Linked DNA regions of Homo sapiens: regions 1, 2 and 4 are each linked to region 3. Evidence: promoter capture Hi-C in human tissues and cell types (Jung and others, 2019). All regions are on one chromosome and are shown on one strand. Each heading gives the region's core, a stretch centred on a gene start or on the middle of the fragment in contact. The rest is flanking DNA. Distances are from core to core; before and after follow the strand shown.

Evidence for each region. Contacts are between HindIII fragments. The study calls those that stand out against the background at their distance.
Region 1: a fragment that was not itself captured here is called in contact with the fragment with the promoter of UGT2B15 in region 3 in 2 of the 25 tissues and cell types used here (bladder and mesenchymal stem cells).
Region 2: a contact is called between a fragment that was not itself captured here and the fragment with the promoter of UGT2B15 in region 3, in 2 of the 25 tissues and cell types used here (liver and mesenchymal stem cells).
Region 4: a contact is called between a fragment that was not itself captured here and the fragment with the promoter of UGT2B15 in region 3, in 1 of the 25 tissues and cell types used here (H1 embryonic stem cells).

What each region holds. Positions count from the first base shown.
Region 1 is chr4:68,849,558-68,853,684 of GRCh38, forward strand. No RefSeq gene overlaps it. Among named protein-coding and RNA genes, the nearest start is that of UGT2B10, 36 kb to the left of the region's middle. The HindIII fragment of the contact is 6,022 bases long and covers 1-4,127 here.
Region 2 is chr4:68,903,998-68,908,520 of GRCh38, forward strand. It overlaps the pseudogene LOC101930041. Among named protein-coding and RNA genes, the nearest start is that of UGT2A3, 46 kb to the right of the region's middle. RefSeq lists enhancers at 1-747, 1,639-2,530, 2,531-3,421. The HindIII fragment of the contact is 4,602 bases long and covers 1-3,671 here.
Region 3 is chr4:68,669,354-68,673,620 of GRCh38, forward strand. UGT2B15 (UDP glucuronosyltransferase family 2 member B15) reads right to left here and starts at 1,299. Exons shown (of 6, transcript NM_001076.4): 1 at 542-1,299. The coding sequence starts at 1,265. The HindIII fragment of the contact is 11,998 bases long and covers 1-4,126 here.
Region 4 is chr4:68,490,676-68,494,877 of GRCh38, forward strand. All of the region lies in intron 9 of TMPRSS11E (transmembrane serine protease 11E), which reads left to right. Among named protein-coding and RNA genes, the nearest start is that of TMPRSS11E, 45 kb to the left of the region's middle. The HindIII fragment of the contact is 3,834 bases long and covers 1-3,296 here.

The DNA of each region.
Region 1 (4,127 bases), core at 1,009-3,508, 180 kb after region 3:
GGAGAAATACCTAATGTAGATGACAGGTTGATGGGTGCAGCAAACCACCACGGCACATGTATACCTATGTAACCAACCTGCACATTCTGCACATGTATCCCAGAACTTAAAGTATAATAAAAAAAATTTTAAAAATAAAGAATAAATTGTCTCTACAAAAAACTTCTTAAAAAATTAGCCTAGTGTTGTGGTGTTCCTGTAGTCCTAGCTACTCAGCAGGCTGAGGTGGGAGGATCCCTAGAGCCTAGGAGTCAGAGGTTACAGTAAGCTTCAATGTCACCACTGCATTTCAGCCTGTGCAACAGAGAGAGAGACCCTGTCTCAAAACAAAAGAAAAGGATTACCAAACCCAAACATAAAGCTTTTAGAGAAAAATAGGAGCCATCTCCCTTGATTACTTGGCAGCAGGCAAAGCTTTCTTAGACAGATTACAGAAAAAGCATAAAAGAAAAAATAATAAAATAATAAATTAGACTTCATAAACAAATGACAACAGTGAAAACTCCCACTCACAAGACACTGTAGAAACAATCCAAGTATCCACCAATTGGAGAATGAATAAACAAACGAGGTGCAGAATATGCAGTATACTCATATACATCTGTGACACGCAACAATACAGATGAATCCAAAACATGTTAGGCTGAGTGGAAACTAGCCACAAAAGAGTACATACTGAATGCATAATTTCATATATAAGATATTCTAAAACAATCTCCTCTGGGAAGCAAGGGCTGAGTTGGACTGCAAAGAGGCATGAAGGGACATTTGTGTGGTCATAATAATGTCTTATGGGTTTGGGTTTATAGAGGTGTAAGCATTTGTTGAAACTCAAAAAATGTATAGTGAAGATACATGCATTTCGTTGTATGCAAATTTTATAACGAAATACTGAAAAATATACTGTAGTCAATTATATATATATATGCTGACTATGAGTAAAAAAAGCACATCTCTTCCTAGATTTTACTGTTAAATTGAATGAATAAAAATCATATATCTTTCTTATCTGGTTATTGTGAGTAGCCATGCAATGGTTCTTAGAATACTTGCTGAAATTATTCTCATCATAAAGAGATTCTTAGTAAATGTTTGCTACTATCACCGTTTTTTCTTGTTGTATTTTGATTTTAGAATTTAAGAAGAGTTCAATATTTTACTTTGAGACATTGCATTGAATGCTTTGAGGCATTTAGTGTTAAAATAATTATGGACTAATAGACAAATAATAAGGATGGATATAAGTATATGCTTACCAAGTTAAAATTATGAAGTGTTAATGCATAGCACTGTAGCAATAGCAATGGAGGTAACTTCTGTTCTTGTTATTTAAAGATCACAGTGGGAAGACTGTGTTTTTCAGAGGGTGACATTAATCCTGATTTATGTTTTTAATACAATTGTAAAAAACTATAATCAAGAAGTTACATAATACAAAGAACCAATACAATGCATGTCATTTCATATACATTCAATATGTGTTAACTATTCAAAAATTATCTTTATTTTTCAACACCAGAATGAGTTTATTAAAATTAATATTAAAAACATAATAGTAAATATTAAAATTATTTAATTTTTGTTAATGTAACTATTAATAAAATAGCATAACTAAAATTATTGTGTGTACTGAAATAATTTAAAAACAACAAATTTCTGGTTTCAGACATTTTGGCTGTTAAACAGAAATATTCCAATTTATCTCTTTCAAGCCCGTTATTTTATAATTATTTCAAATGAGACAAAAGCAACCACAACCACAATAACAAAGAATATGGTCACTTTTATACTAGTATCTTATTTTTTTCAATTGTTTTAAACAGGTAAATTTGAAAGGCGTAGTGGTTTACAATTCATCAGTGATGGGATTAAAAATATTAACATCATAATTATTTCCTTATAATTAAATAGAAGAGGAACTAGTGATTGATTATGTCATGCCAATTTACTGAAAATAAAGCATTTTGGAAGAGTTTTAAAAACAATAAAAAAATTGAGTAACTAATGTGAGATGATTGACACATGCTTACCTGCTTCATTATAGCAACCTTTTCACTACATATTTGCATCTGATGATAGCATCTCGTATACATTATATATACCAAATAAAATTTATCCAGAAAAATAACATTTGATGAGCTCTCATGCTGAAAGACTGGCATAAACATGGTGAAAACTAGACAGTACTCTAATAATATTTATGTTTCCCTGCTTCAACTTTGTTCTCAGTCTTCTTTATAATGTGTTGTTACCATCTTCAGCAATTCCTATTTCATTTTTGACTATTTTAAAACTTATGCACTAGCCTAGAACCTCTGATAAACATTTCCACTAAAACCACCAAAGTGAAGTATAGGCGACACTCCAGTATGAAGTGTGTTACCACTTCATGATAAAGACTGGGGATTTTTTCCCATATAAAATGCTGTCACTGGAAATAAAAGACAGGCTGTTATTTTTCAGTTGCAACTGAAATATCCCTACATAAGGAGAAAGGGTGTTTGTAATGATTGAATTAGGAGACAGACAACCTAGAAAATTATTGAACTTTTATTGTTTAAGAGGTAACTACAGTTGAAATAGAAATAAAGATAATTTGTTCTAGCCATAAAGAACGTAACTGTGTATAAAAAAAATGGTAACTGTTGTAATTAATTGTATTTTTCCCCCAGGACTGGAACATAAATATAAACATGCTAGATTTTATTTTTGAGTTTTTAAATAATAAATGGTGAATCTGTTTTTTTTCTGTTGAAGTATTTTCATCATGATTGGCTGTTAGCCATGTTTTCAATCTTTGTTCTTCAGAGTCTCACCAAGGCCATTCTGGACTACCCACTATACAGCGAAGTATTGATACTAAGGTATCTGATTTCCTGTCATCAAATTTCCATGTGATCATTTATATAAAGAAAATACTTTGTTCTGAGTCAAATTCAAATTAAACCATATTTGTTAGAATTCTAAAAAGACTGAGAACCCTACTAAATGCCTTCTATATAGCAGACAAAGAAAACAGAATAGGACAGGTTAATTAATGAGAACTACTAGAAGACTGAAGTAAGCAGAACAACTATATTTCCTGGACTTATTTTTACATTAGATCAGTTTAAATGCAATCATAATATTTCATACATAGTGACTTAAACAATTGAGATAATAAATGAAAAATTCAAGTATTTAATTGTTAGACAGTCATAATTCTGGTGTGAAGAAGAGTAACAAATTAATAATGGTCCACACTTTTTAAATTAATGTTTGTACTATACTCACTCTCTTCTTCCAAATTTATTATTAAGCTTTTTTATTTTTAAAACAATGAAATGGGAGACAGTTTACTTATATCCACTTGTTCCATAGTTACAGTCTGACATCTTTTGATTTACAAACAAAGCAAATCTATGTAATCCTCTCTGTATGAGAAATAAATTAATTCTGCTTAGGAATTACATATAAAGATAAAAAATTTCAAGTGGCATTTTTCATGTATATCCATAATATTATTACATTTGTTAGCATGGACATTTTTAGATATGAGAAAGAATGATTGGCATCTTATAAATAATAGTGCTGTTGAAAAAAATTCTAAAATGCAATGATGCTAAATTTTATTCAAAGACTGTTAAATCTTCGATGACATACTCCAAAGCATTGACAGCAGTGTTTAATATGGTTGTCTATAGCTAAGCCATTTGGTACATGCCTAGTACCATAATGAGGTACTGATTTTGGAATTACCAGGAAATCATCATAAACTAGTGCATAATTTACAAATTTTTAAAATTTAGTTTTTATGTGAGTGTTAAAAATAACTTCAGGTTTGCAGCCAAAAATAGTATAGGTAATTATAAAAAGCTACGTAGAATAAAAAAATAAAGAGTATTTCATAAGTATTCAAAGATCATAGTTGTGTTGTACATATTAGAAAGTTAGTTATTATTATATTTTAGGGGTTGGAGCATCTGAACTTCTCTCCTTGCTTGAGTTTTCCTCTCTTTCTTCTTCTTCTTCCTTTTTGTTTTTATTTGAAATAGTCTCACTCTGCCTTTCAGGTTGGAGTGTGGAAGTGTGATCACAGCTCACTGTAACCTTAAACTCCTGGGCTCCATCAATCCTCCTGCCTCAGC
Region 2 (4,523 bases), core at 121-2,620, 230 kb after region 3:
CTAGGACTGTAAATCAAGTGGCACTTGCTGGAATATGTCCCATTAAGGTATGCAGGTTTGACACCACTGGGTGGATGGTCACTGTGGCCTGGTTTTCTGAATGCAAATCCTGTACTGGCCTATATTCCCCAGACGGCTTCCGCACTGGCAAGAGAATGTTGTTCCATGGTGACTGGCATTTGGCTATGATTCCATGCTTATGAAGCCACTCTAAATGTTTGTGGACACCCCGTATGTCCTCAGGGAGTAGCGAGTACTGTCGGACCCGAACCGGAGTTTCTCCCAGTTTTAACTCTACCACCACCGGTGCCTGATTTACGCTGGCACCAGTCCAGGTGGATTACTTTCAGCCCAAACTCTGGGAATTTTAGTAAGTAACCCATGCATTTCATTTACTCCTGGTTCCGGAGTCTTTTTTGCATAGTCTCCATTTCTCAGCCTGCAGGACAGTGAGGGTTAACATCATAGCCTCTGGGCAAACTACGTTTAAAGTTACATTCCCTTGCGGCCCAAATGTAATCTGTGCCTGCAGTTTTTGAAGTAGGTCTCTTCCCAGCAAAGAAACTGGACAATTTAGGAGGTATAGGAATTCATTTTGGACTTCTCATCCTCCTATAACACACCTCTTTGACCGACAGGCCACTTTTCAGAGACTCCAGTGGCTCCTACAATAGTTGCACAGTTCTTGGATTGTGGCTCTATAGGTCAGGTCACTACTAAGTGTTTAGTTCTGGTGTCTACCGTAAAGTCCATTAGCTGGCCTCTAACTTCTAATCTGACCATGGGCTCCTCGGGTCCCAAAGAGAAGCAGCCTGGTCTGTCCTACCCTCATATCCTTCAGCCCCTGCCAGTCCAATCAGATCGATGTCTGGTTCCTCCCTGGTGTGGCAGCCACCAGTAGGTGGCCTTCCTATACTACTGCCCTGGGGTCTCTTTTCCCTCCAGTGGTTCTTGCAAAATTGGTTTTTCCTGTGGCTTTCTTTTTGTCTCTGTGTTTGCCGGAGAAGCTTTCACTTTTTGCTCAGCTCAACCTACAAGCTCCTGTGACTTTCCCTTTAACTCTGTGTTTACAGGCGAAGCTTTCACTTTGTCTTTGCAGCTGCCAGCACAGGTGATTTCTCTCAGCTCGACCTGCGAGTATCCTGCAATAAGCTGCTAAACAGGGCTGCATTCAGCCATGAGTTAACATAAGGAAATTTGGTCTGAATGCCCTGACTGTCCTCCTTGTTATTATTCTCTGGACACTCATCCTTCCAGTGTCCTTTTCTTTTGCACCGCTCACACTGATCTCTTTCCAGCCTCGGCTGGCCCTCAAATCCCTGTCCAGACTGGCCTCTTCCATGCCCATGTCCATACCCACATCCATGAGGGATGCTGCCAGCAAATCAGCCTTTTTCTCAAGCCTTCTATTAGCCTCCCTCTTTGCCTCCTGATCTTGGTTAATGTACACCTTCGTGGCCACTTCAATAAGCTGAGTAGCATTCATCCCTTTAAAACCTTCCATTTTCTGCAATTTTCACTGGATATCCCCCTGGGCCTGCTCTACAAATGCCATGTTCATCATGCACTGGCCTCACCAAGTCTTTTATAAAAATGGCTGGGGCTTTCATCTGCACCCTGATGCCCCTCTGAGATTTTTCCTATATTGATTGCCTGTCTCCCGCCTTCCCTTAAATTTTGCAGGAGTGCCTCTTGGTATCTTGGCAGCTGCTATAGTTGGGCTGCCTCATTCCTTTGGGTTCTAGTGGGGGTCCTCTAGTTTCCAGGAGAGGCATTTGCATAGCCCTAACACAACCTGACTGGAGGTGGCTTGCCTGTTTTTCCTAGCATTTCACCTTAACTTCCTGGAGTGAGGGCTCAGATTTTTCCCTCTCAAGAGAGACTGGGGGCATGTATCCATTTGAGCTTGACTCCTCAGAGGCAGTTAACCTGGGGAAAGCGGGGGTAGATTGGAACATATGGAGGAGGGGTCTCTTTTCCCTCCAGTGGTTCTTGAAAAACTGGTTTTTCCTGTGGCTTTCTTTTTGTCTCTGTTTGCTCACGCTACAAGCTCCTGTGACTTTCCCTTTAACTCTGTTTACAGGCGAAGCTTTCACTTTGTCTTTGTAGCTGGCAGCACAATTGATTTCTCTTGGCTTGAGCTGTGAGCATTCTTCAATAAGCTGCTAAACAGGGCTGCATTCAGCCATGAGTTAATATAAGGAAATTTGGTCTGAATTATCTGACTGTCCTCCAACTCAGGTCACCACCTTAAACACACGGCCAATTTTCTCCCTATCTGTAGCACATTTGGCAGGCCAGCCAACACCAAAAAAGGGCTATTCTAATTCACAGAGAGCTCTCAGCATCTGAGGGGTTAACTTGACTCCCTCAACCCCTGCAAAGCCTTTCTTAAAGTTCTTTAACATACATTCCAATGGGGTGGGTTTCCACGATTTTCCTCCCATTTCCTCCCAGTTATGATGCAGCACATTCACCTTTCCTTTTGTTTTAGACCGATTGGACCCGGTTGGTCCTACATTTTGCTCGGAGCGTACAGCCTACACTAAGAGATCAGCAGCTCCACACATGTCATTCCCGTTGGTTCCTCCCAGAACTGTCTCTTTCACACGCACTCACACACTTCCCCGCTCCCAGTTCCCTATCCTGGTTGGGGCAGTGAACCGCTCTCACTGCATCCAGTTTCCTTCTGAACTAACTTAGCGAGCCACTCTCGCGTCCTGTGTTGGTTGGGGTGTGAGTTTCATCCAAATTTGTGAGCCACTCTCACCGTCCCCCAGCCTCTCTGTGTTGGATTAGTTGTCACTCCCTGGGAGGTGATCAGGCTCCCCTTCTGTCCTTATGGGATAGGTCCTGCCTTGGGCCCCAAAACTTTACCATGGTTCTGAAGAAAGGGCGCCATTCCTGGAACCGTCCTGCAACCCCTCCGGGTTCCCTTGTGCTGTCAGGGGAGGGGCACCGGGGACGCGGGAGAACAGCTCCTTTCTCTGGGCTTAAGTTCCCTTGATGGGTCCTGAAGTTAAGGGTCTCCCACAGCCGAGGCCCCAGACCGCCCACAGGCAAAGAAGCCAGCCAAGCTGCAGTCTCTCAGTCCCATGTGGGTCACCAGGTGTGTAGCGGATCAGGAGGACCCGAGAGAGACCTTGGGGTATATAGAGGAGGATATCTTTATTGAGTACACTCAGACCCAACGGACTTACCATCCAAAGATGGGGCCCCCAACAAAGACAGCACTTGACTTTTATACACACTTTAAAAAAGGGGTGGGCTAACTTGGTGCAGGCTTACGGTGGCACGAAAGCAGGGATACAGAAGGAGAACAATTAATAAAATTGTGACAGGTTCATAACCCAGGATTACACATGACTATTGCTATGCAACCTAGATGACTGTTATCTAGGTTTTGCTCAAAAGAGCCTTGCACTGGTTTATCTTATAACCTTCACTATGGTGCCCAGACAGCTGTAGTTCAGGCGTACTCAGACTTCTCAGGACCTTTGCTGTGCTTTTTAGATAAAGCAGAAATCTTGAGGTTACTAGTTACAGAGAACAAGAATCTGTAAAGTCATACCATAAAACAGAGGAAAATTTGTTTTTCTTCTCCCTATGTTGAAGGAGTGCTGAGAGAGTCACCAGACCACATTTCTTTGGTGTGTGTCCTGGCTTTTTAGATAGTATTAAGAATTTCCCTGGGTCTGGGCTGCACCCATTGCTGCCTCTGGGACTAGTTAGCCTAATACAGGAAAGCCTATTTCTCTTTTTAATTTTATTTTTCTTTCTTTCTTTAATTTCCTGCCTCAATCTCAGTAAATTAAATTATCCTAAATGTTAACTTTTCAGGGAGAAAATTTTCACCCTTTAACTCTTTATAGAATTTAAGACTCTTAGTTTTCCAACATTATGGCACTGTATTTAATATTTTGTGGGATCTGGGCAAGGGCTGATGCAATCACATCAGCCTTTTCTTCTGTAATGTTATCAACCATCGATCCCAGACAAAACACTGCAATGCTATTTTCTCCAGAGCTCTGGGAAAATGTCCATTTCCTATGAAGAAAGAATTTGCTCCATCACAAAAGAGCAATAACACAGCAAACACTATTGAAAAGAATGCTATGAGCAAATAAGGATGAGATATCAAATATTAGCTGGAATTGCTGGAGTAGAAGCTATGATAAAACATACATAATATGAAATTTTCCAACTTAAGCACTTCTAAGTGTACACATAGTACTGCTAGGTACACAATCTTAAGCAACCAATCTCCAGAACTTTTTCTGCTTTAAAGTTAAAACTCTATGCTGATTAAACAACAACTTTTTATTTTATGGAGTCCTTTTCACGTGGTAGCCACCATTCTACTTTCTTTTCTTTTCTTTTTTTTTTTTTAATGAATTTGACTAGTTTAGATACCTTATAAAGAGGAATTACAGTGTTTGTCTTTTTGTGACTTATTAACTTAGCCTAATGATACCAAGTTTCATCCACATTGTAGCATAAACCACATAGTGTCTGTCTGTTCA
Region 3 (4,267 bases), core at 49-2,548:
AACATTAGAAATCTCAAGTTTTAGGCTTCTGTTTCTGGAGTAGAGCCACTATATTACTCAACTGTGAAGGAATCCTTCTTACATGAAAAACAAAATTTAATTTCTAAATGAGGAAACTGAGGAACTCAAAGAGAAACAAATTCCTCAATCCTGCATTGATAATTTTTCTAGAAATATGTGTAAATACTAAATTTATGTGTCTGCCTTCATGAAGATGTTTCTTGAGGTATCTATTGACTTTTTTTAAAGATGAAAAAATGTATAGCAAAATGATATGTGATAGTTTAAAGAAATCATTAGTGCTTTACAATGAAGGTTTATGACTCTCTGGGTGTCCTGTAGTAGTGATGGCCCCAGGGTTCTAACTGATTCTATAAGGTCAACATTCTATAATATTTTTGAGACTGATAGATCATCTTACATTTGCAATTCATAATTTCCCTTAAAAACACTATCTTCTGACATTATATTTATATAAGCTCACCTTCAAAGGCACAGAAAAGTTAGAACTTAATAAGCACCAGTTAGACACATGACTTACCTAGAACTTCACTATAAAACTGGTCCCACTTCTTCAGATCATAAATTTGAAACCAAAAGTCAAAATAAAGCATATGTATCATATTTTTTATCCTCTCCATGAAAATCATTTGATCACTTAATTCTGACATAACAACAGGTACATAGGAAGGAGGGAACAGAAATCCTCCACCATTCTTCTCAAATGTGTAGCCAACAGAGAATCGAAGACTGTACAGAAAGGGTATGTTAAATAGTTCAGCCAGTAGCTCACCACAGGGATTAAGGGCATCTGCCAGAATGACATCAAACTTTGACTCTTGTAGTTTCATCATAAGTTTCTTATTCAAAACTGCATCTTTACAGAGCTTGTTACTGTAGTCATAATATTCCCAACACAATTCTTGTAATTGTGAAAAATATGACCAAAATGTATTTTTTGAAACACCATATATCCATCTATCGAGAATTTTCAGAAGAGAATCTTCCAAATAATTTTTAGTTAAAGATGTAGGATAAACTTCTAATTTAATAGCAGATGATTTACTGGCATTGACAAGAGTAGAAGCCGAAGATGTCAACACAGTCACCTCATGACCCCTCTGAACAAGCTCTTCCAGGATTGTCTTCATATTTATCCAATGGCTGTATTCTGTGGGCCACACTAGCACCTTTCCACAGCTTCCAGAGCTAAAGTAACAACTGAGCTGTATCAGCAGAAAGACTGACGTCCATTTCAGAGACATCCTGGTCTTATGCAATGCTTCTTTTCCAGTTGTTGTTTCTTTCTGTCATTTCTCATACTTATATCTGAGGAAAAATCAATCAAGTTAAAATATAACTGCTAAAATTTGAAGTAAATACATAATACTAACAGTCTGAATAGGTGCATGCCAAGGAGACCAACAAAAGATTGATGACCTCATATTTATTTTAGTGTGTTTGGTGTTCTTTTATGTTTACAATTACTCTAGTCAAGCAATAATTTTTATGACCTAGAATATGTAAGTAACCTGTCTTATGTAATTATTTTATAATACTGTTAAGAACAGTGGCAAGTGAGAGGCTCCTGCCTGTTCGGTGCCCTTGACATAGAGAGAAGAAGTAATTATACAACTCAAACGGCATTTTTTAATATCGTGGTGCAAGTAATGTCTTCTAAAACTTTGTTGACACATAATTCATATACCATATGACTCACCAATTAGTGTGTACAGTTCAATGTTTCCTAGTATATTCACAGAATTTTACATCCACTACAATAATCAGTATTATCTCCAAAAGATTCTATACAATAGCCTCTAACCCCCCACTCTGAAATTTTGCATCCATCCTACCCTAGGCAACCACTAATCTAATTTCTATCTCTATAGATTAGCATTTTCTGGACCCTTTAAAAAATAAATGAGGGTTTTCCAGTGATCATGGCAGATGGGATGCAGGACTAGATTGCAGCTCCAGACAGAGCAGCATGCAGAGGCTTGCATTGTGAATTTTAGCTGCAGATCAACTGCAAGAACAGACCAGCAATTCTGAGAGGATCCACACACCCTCTGCAGGAAGAGTACTGCTCCTGCAGGACCTGGGAGACATCCCAAACACTGTGAGTGCCCCAACAATGGAAGTGGGAAAGGGTGATCCCCCTCTCCAGAATACACATCCCCACTGGAGAAGCTGAAGTTCTGTTTGCAGGAGAAGTTCCTGACTTTATGTGAAGCTGAGTCAAATTAGAGAACCAAGCCAAGCAAAATACAGGGGTAGAGGAAGTAGCAGAAAGGCACTGGGAGCTCTCTGGATACCCAAGCGGCTCATTCCTGCCTGGCATCACAGGGATCTATCAGGAGGGTGGCCAGTGATGCAGGGGGTTCAAAGATTCTCCTCAGGACCTGAAGGCTTGAAGGGATGAGTAACTCCTCCCTTCTCAGGCCCAGCCCCAAGATGCAAGACCACTTGCATCAGCAGCGTGTGTCAGCAAGATAGCAGAAGCAGGAAGAGAGCCGGCCAGAAGACACTTACCCTGGCTGGAAGAGATGTACCCCTGAAGATCAAGAAATAGGCCATCCAGGTACTACATAGCAGTCACAACAGACTGGGACACTTACTGTTTACAGAGGACTACAAAACCCCTGTCCCATCCTCACTTGGGGCTGATGCCATTTTAGGCCTCAGCCCACCTGCAACCAGGCGTTCATTAAAACAGCATGTTGCTCCACACCGCCTCCTGTTGTCTGTTGGCGCGCTGTTGGGGTTCAAACTGATTCAAGAACCTTACATCTGGTGCCAAATCCTAGGAGGGGCTCAGGTCTGTGTCGCTTGTGGACCTATCCCTCCACCCCAGAGAGCAGGCCACAGCAATTAGACAGAGGAAGCTCCTCAGCCTCCAGTCGCCTCTCTGTGCATGCGCATCAGCCACTGATCTCGCCTACTGGTAAGTTTCCCTTGGAGCCCGGTTAACAGGGCAAAATCTACATGGCCTCTCTTGGTTTCTCCAGTCCAAAAATCCAACACTGATCCAAGAAGGCGCCAGCGTGCGCCAGGCACTCGCTGGTCATCTGGTCTTAGGGGGATGCCTCTAAGCCATTTCATCCCGTTCCAGGAACCAAAAAGGCAGCGGAGACGATAACTCCTTTTATCGTCTCCCTCCAGCTGTCCAGGATGGTCTCCTTTTTCCCTGTTCTCTCGAGCTACCCTTCATTATGGGAAACTCCCGGTCCTCAATTCCAAAAAACAGCCCTCCAGCCTGCCTCATTAAAAATCTGCAAACCTTAGGCCTCAGGCAAGATATCTGCCATAAGTGCCTTGTCTTTTTTATACGATAAAGCCTGGTCGCAGTATGAATTAGATAACGGGTCCAAATGGCCCGCAAATGGAACACTCAGCTTTACAGTTTTAACTGACTTAAGCAGTTATTGCAGATGACTGGGAAAATGGGGAGAAATTCCTTGTGTCCAGGCCTTTTTGCACTCAGATCACAGCCCGACCTCTGCAATTCTTGCTTACCTGTTCAAATCCTTCTTCATTCTCGCCGCCCTCATTGCCTTTATCCTCCCGACCCTACCTCTTTTTCCTCATTGGATGGAGCAGACTGCTGTCCACCCCTCCCAGACCCTACCCCTCCATCTCAACCAACTTCATTAACTCCCCAAGCTTCCTCATTGTCTTCTCAGCCACCATCTTCCCAGCCACCATCTTCCCAGCCAGCATCACCCACTTCTTTTCCTATACCATCCTCTCCTCAGGAAAACTCTAGCATTGCCTGTACTCATTCTCCTTCCTTACAGCCCTCTCACGGAGCCTGTAAACCCATCCCGCCACCTTACACCCGTATCTATCCTCCAATGCCTATCAACTCAACCCCCCTTCCCTCTTCAAACCCTCAGCAGGAACCCCTTCTGGCTTCTTCCTTCTCTCCTGCCCATACTAGCTCCGGCACCATCTTTGGCCCATGCCCCACCCGTACTTTAGCGCCAGTGCTAGAATGCCCCCTTCGGGAAGTAGCAGGAACTGAAGGTATTGTTAGAGTTCATGTTCCCTTCTCCCTCACTGATCTCTCTCAAACTAACAAAAGACTCAGTTCATTTCCAGAAGATCCTACCTCTTATATTAGGGAGATTCAGTACCTTACTCAGTCTTATGAACTAACCTGGCATGACAGCTACTTATCTTCTCTTCCACCCTCACCCCAGAAGACCAGCACCGTACTTGGACCCTAGCTCAGGTGCATGCTAATACAATTCATCATCAAGCT
Region 4 (4,202 bases), core at 130-2,629, 180 kb before region 3:
AGACATGGTTCTAGTAGATGGGGAGAGTTATTCCTCATTACTGGGTGGTAGTTCATGCTTCCCACTCAGCATATTCTTTTTTTTTTTTTTTTTTTTTTTTTTGAGGTGGAGTCTCGCTTGTTGCCCAGGCTGGAGTGCAGTGGTGCCATCTTGGCTCACTGCAACCTCTGCCTCCTAGGTTCCAGCAATTCTCCTGCCTCAGCCTCCTGAGTAGCTGAGATTAAAGGCATGTGCCACGACACCTGACTAATTTTTGTATTTTTAGTAGAGACGGCGTTTTGCCATGTTTGCTAGGCTGGTCTGAAACTCCTGATTTCAGGTCATCCACCTGCTTCAGCCTTCCAACGTGCTGGGATTACGAGTGTGAGCCACTGCACCTGGTGCCTATTCAGCATATTCTGACACCAATCTAGTAGGGAATTGGGCCTTCTTACAGCCTGGTAAGCATGGAAGTCTTTTCAGTTGGGATTTATTGTCTTCCTGGATTTGCTGTTTTCCCAAGTTGTCCTCTTATTGATTATTTTACTAGGGAGAGCAGGATTTTCTTGGAGCCTTTTAAAAAACTTGCACTTGTTGGCAGGTTGCCAGGTTGCTGGCTTCTTCCAAGTCCATGATATATGAAGCAAAAAAAAAAAAAAAAAAAAAAAAATTGAGAGAGCTCACTCTTGTATCATTCCTTTTGTCCTGCATTTCTGAGCCCACCTGTCGTCTTCTCTCTAATTTTCAGAGTCTTTTTATGTTTGTTTTATTTGTAATGCCCAGGTATTTTTTTGTTTGTTTTAGCCATATTTAGCTGGGGAAAAAAGAATAAGTAAGTCTGTCCCATATTGGTCTGGAGCGTTTACATATTTTTGAAGCCGGGTTTTGTTTTCCAGTGTTTGGCTATTGCCACCAATTTTGTGCCTTTGGTGGATACAAAAATTTTGACCTCTATGTCTTCATGTGCATCACTCACAAAATCATGGAGGGGGCCAATAACTGGTTCCTTCTGTGTGTCACTAAATGCTTTCATAATTTTCATTTTGTGATTTGACAGAATTTTTGTTTAATGTGCTTTCTAAGCCCTATAGTTCTCTTCAGAATTCCATGTTACTCTGTGTGCTTTCTAATCTGTATTCATAAAATGGTACCATTAATTTCTAAGATTTTTTTTTACAATTTTTAATGTTATTCCTTTCATGCTTTCGCATGAACACTATCTGTATTGCCTTCATTTGCTCCACCTCATTTAATTCCCTGTTGGCATCACTATAGTTCTTTCCCAACTTTTACCTTTGGGTTAGTCGTTTTAGCAATGTTCAGTTTGCTACATTAAATTCTTTTATTCAGTTGACCTTTGTTTATACTCTGGCAAATGCCCAAGTTTAGACTCACTTCATTTTGTTTCTTTTTCTGTGTTTCCTAATTGCTCCTGGAGGAACACACGGAACAAAGTAGATTGGTCCCATTACCACACACTACTAAAAATTCCTTCCTAACAATTGAAATTGATTCTGTAATTCAATCTCCTGAAATGAATTCAACTTAAAAGATGACTTGAAAATATACTTGATCCTTGTTATTTGCAGATTCCATATTTGCAAATTCACCTACTCACTAAAATTTATTTGTAACCCCCAAATCAATACTCAAGGCACTTTTATGATCATTCACAAGCATGCACAGAGTGGCAAAATATCTTATTACTCAATGAGCATATTCTTACCTGAGGTTGAAAAATGTGATACTGTGCCTTTTTGTTTCAGTTCTCATTCTGTAAACAAGTGTCTTTTCTTGGTCTACATAGTGCTACATTTTTCACATTTTTATTATCTTTGCTGGCGATTTTGCTGTTTAAAATAGTCCCCAACTGTAGTGCCAAAGTATAGTGCAAGAAGGTTGTGATGTGCCATATGGAGAAAATATGTATATTTGGTAAGCTTTGTTTAGTTATAAGTTTTAGCGGTGTTTACTGTGAGTTTAATGTTAATGAATCAACAATGTATATTAAATAGAACGTCTTTAAACAGAAACACACACGAAATCTGTTTATGTCTTGAGCAGTTGACAAAAATGTGACCAGAGTCTCCTGGAAAACCAACCCTGTATTTCTCCTAAGAACAAGGACTCAACAGTCATTAATTCAGCATTTGTGGTGACTTCACAGAACACGACTACCATGAATAATGAGAATAACCTGTATTTTATTTGTCTTCTTGACGGTCATGGAATCATTGATGGTTTAGATATTATGCTAGACCTTCTTTTGTCCTAATCATCATCATCCTACTTGCCTCCAACTTTCCTGAAACTGTTGAAAACATCGTGCACTTTTACATTTATGATCATCCATTATTTTCTTTATTCAACTATCTCGGTTTCTATAGTCTCTATAGTAATGTCCTTCCTAAAAATTTCAGAGAAACAGATGTATGCCCTCTTAATCTTTTATTTTATAATTTTTATTATAAAAATTTCAATGGTATGCAAAAATAGGGAGGATAAAATAATGAACTTTCATGTACTCATCACCTAGTTCAAAAATTTACAACTCATGGCCAACCTTACGTTATCCGTACATACCCTGATAAAATCCCCTCATCCCCTTTCCCTACCAAAATATCAAATCTATTTTGAAGTTAATCCCAGATGTTATATACTTTCATCTGAAAATGTCCCCATTCAAAAATACTATTTTGATGGTGATATTAGAGGTACACGCTTTACAAACTTTGTGAGCTACAGAAGAGAAGCCAAATTTGCCCTATGATTACAATATTCTACTTTCTTATCTCTGGGAAGACATGGCACCCATTTTTTTGGGGGGGAGGGATGGAGTTTCATGCTTGTTACCCAGGCTGGAGTGCAGTGGTGTGATCTCGGCTCACTGCAACCTCCACCTTCTGGATTTAAGCTATTCTCTCGCCTCAGCCTCCTGAGTAGCTGAGATTACAGGCAACCGCCACCACACCAGACTAATTTTTGTATTTTTAGTAGAGACAAGGTTTCACCATGTTGGTGAAAAATTCCTTCCTAGCTTCCAGGCTGGTCTCAAGCTCCTGACCTCAGGAGATCTACCTGCCTCAGCTTCCCAAGGTGCTGGGATTACAGGTGTAAGCCATCTTGCCCAGCCTCCATTTAAAAAATGTTCATGTCTAGCATCCACAGTTTTTACCACTTGCCTTGCTCTTTATATTTTAATATCACAAAAACCACTAATAACCTCATATGTAAAAATTTTTCCTTGAATCTCCTACTGTTTCTCATCTCAGTGGTATTTGGCGACCTTGCCTTTCTTAAGACATATCCCTTGTTTGAATTTCATAATTCTGAAATTTGCTGATTTCTTTCCTCCTCCTCCATCTACTCATTTCTGGCTGTATCCTTTGATTAATCTTTCTCTCTCTCTCTCAATCTGGCTATGCTCAAGATTCAGATCTCAGATAAAGTTTTTATCTGCTGTCTATATTCTCACTCAAAGAAGCCATCTTTTCTTTGAACTCAGCTATCACCTTAATGAGTGCCAAACCTGTGTCTCCAGAATTCAACTCTTGCCCATATTTAGTCTTACATTTCTACCTACTTCAAAGTGATTTCTATTTATATATTTTAAGTTCTTAATAGGAAATGAAAATTTGTATATGTGCCATTTGAAACTCAACAGGCATCATGAAATGTTGCCTGGGTTTTTAAGTTTCTCGCTCATATTATTAGGGTTCACTATTAGAGTTTTTTTTACTCTTATGTTTCCTCCACATGTATTCAGTTAAGTCCTAGACTATTTTCCCACTTTACCATATCTTTTATGTTTATTTCTTATGCCCCTATTATTTCTGTTAACACCCTAATCTATTCCCTCATTTCTTTGTGTCTTAATACTTCCACGGCTTCCTGTTTGGCTTCTTCCAATTTTAGAAGTTTCTGAATACACTTCCTGTTCTGTTTCTCACTAAACCATTCACTAAAAATAACAGGATTAATGAGACAAATAGAGATAGAGACAGACTGGTCCCTCAAAAGCTATGCAACTTTATAACTGAAGAATTAACAAATATAATAATTGGTACCTTTAAAAATAGCTTGCACAGTGTAGGCAGGCAAAACGCCCAAAGTCTGGTGGCTTACTCAGGGCATGTTAAAAATGCAAAGAAAAATAATGTGGAAACACAGGTTTGCTGGTGCTAAGGCAATATACACAGGGAAGTGTAGTCCTGAGCAGAAGA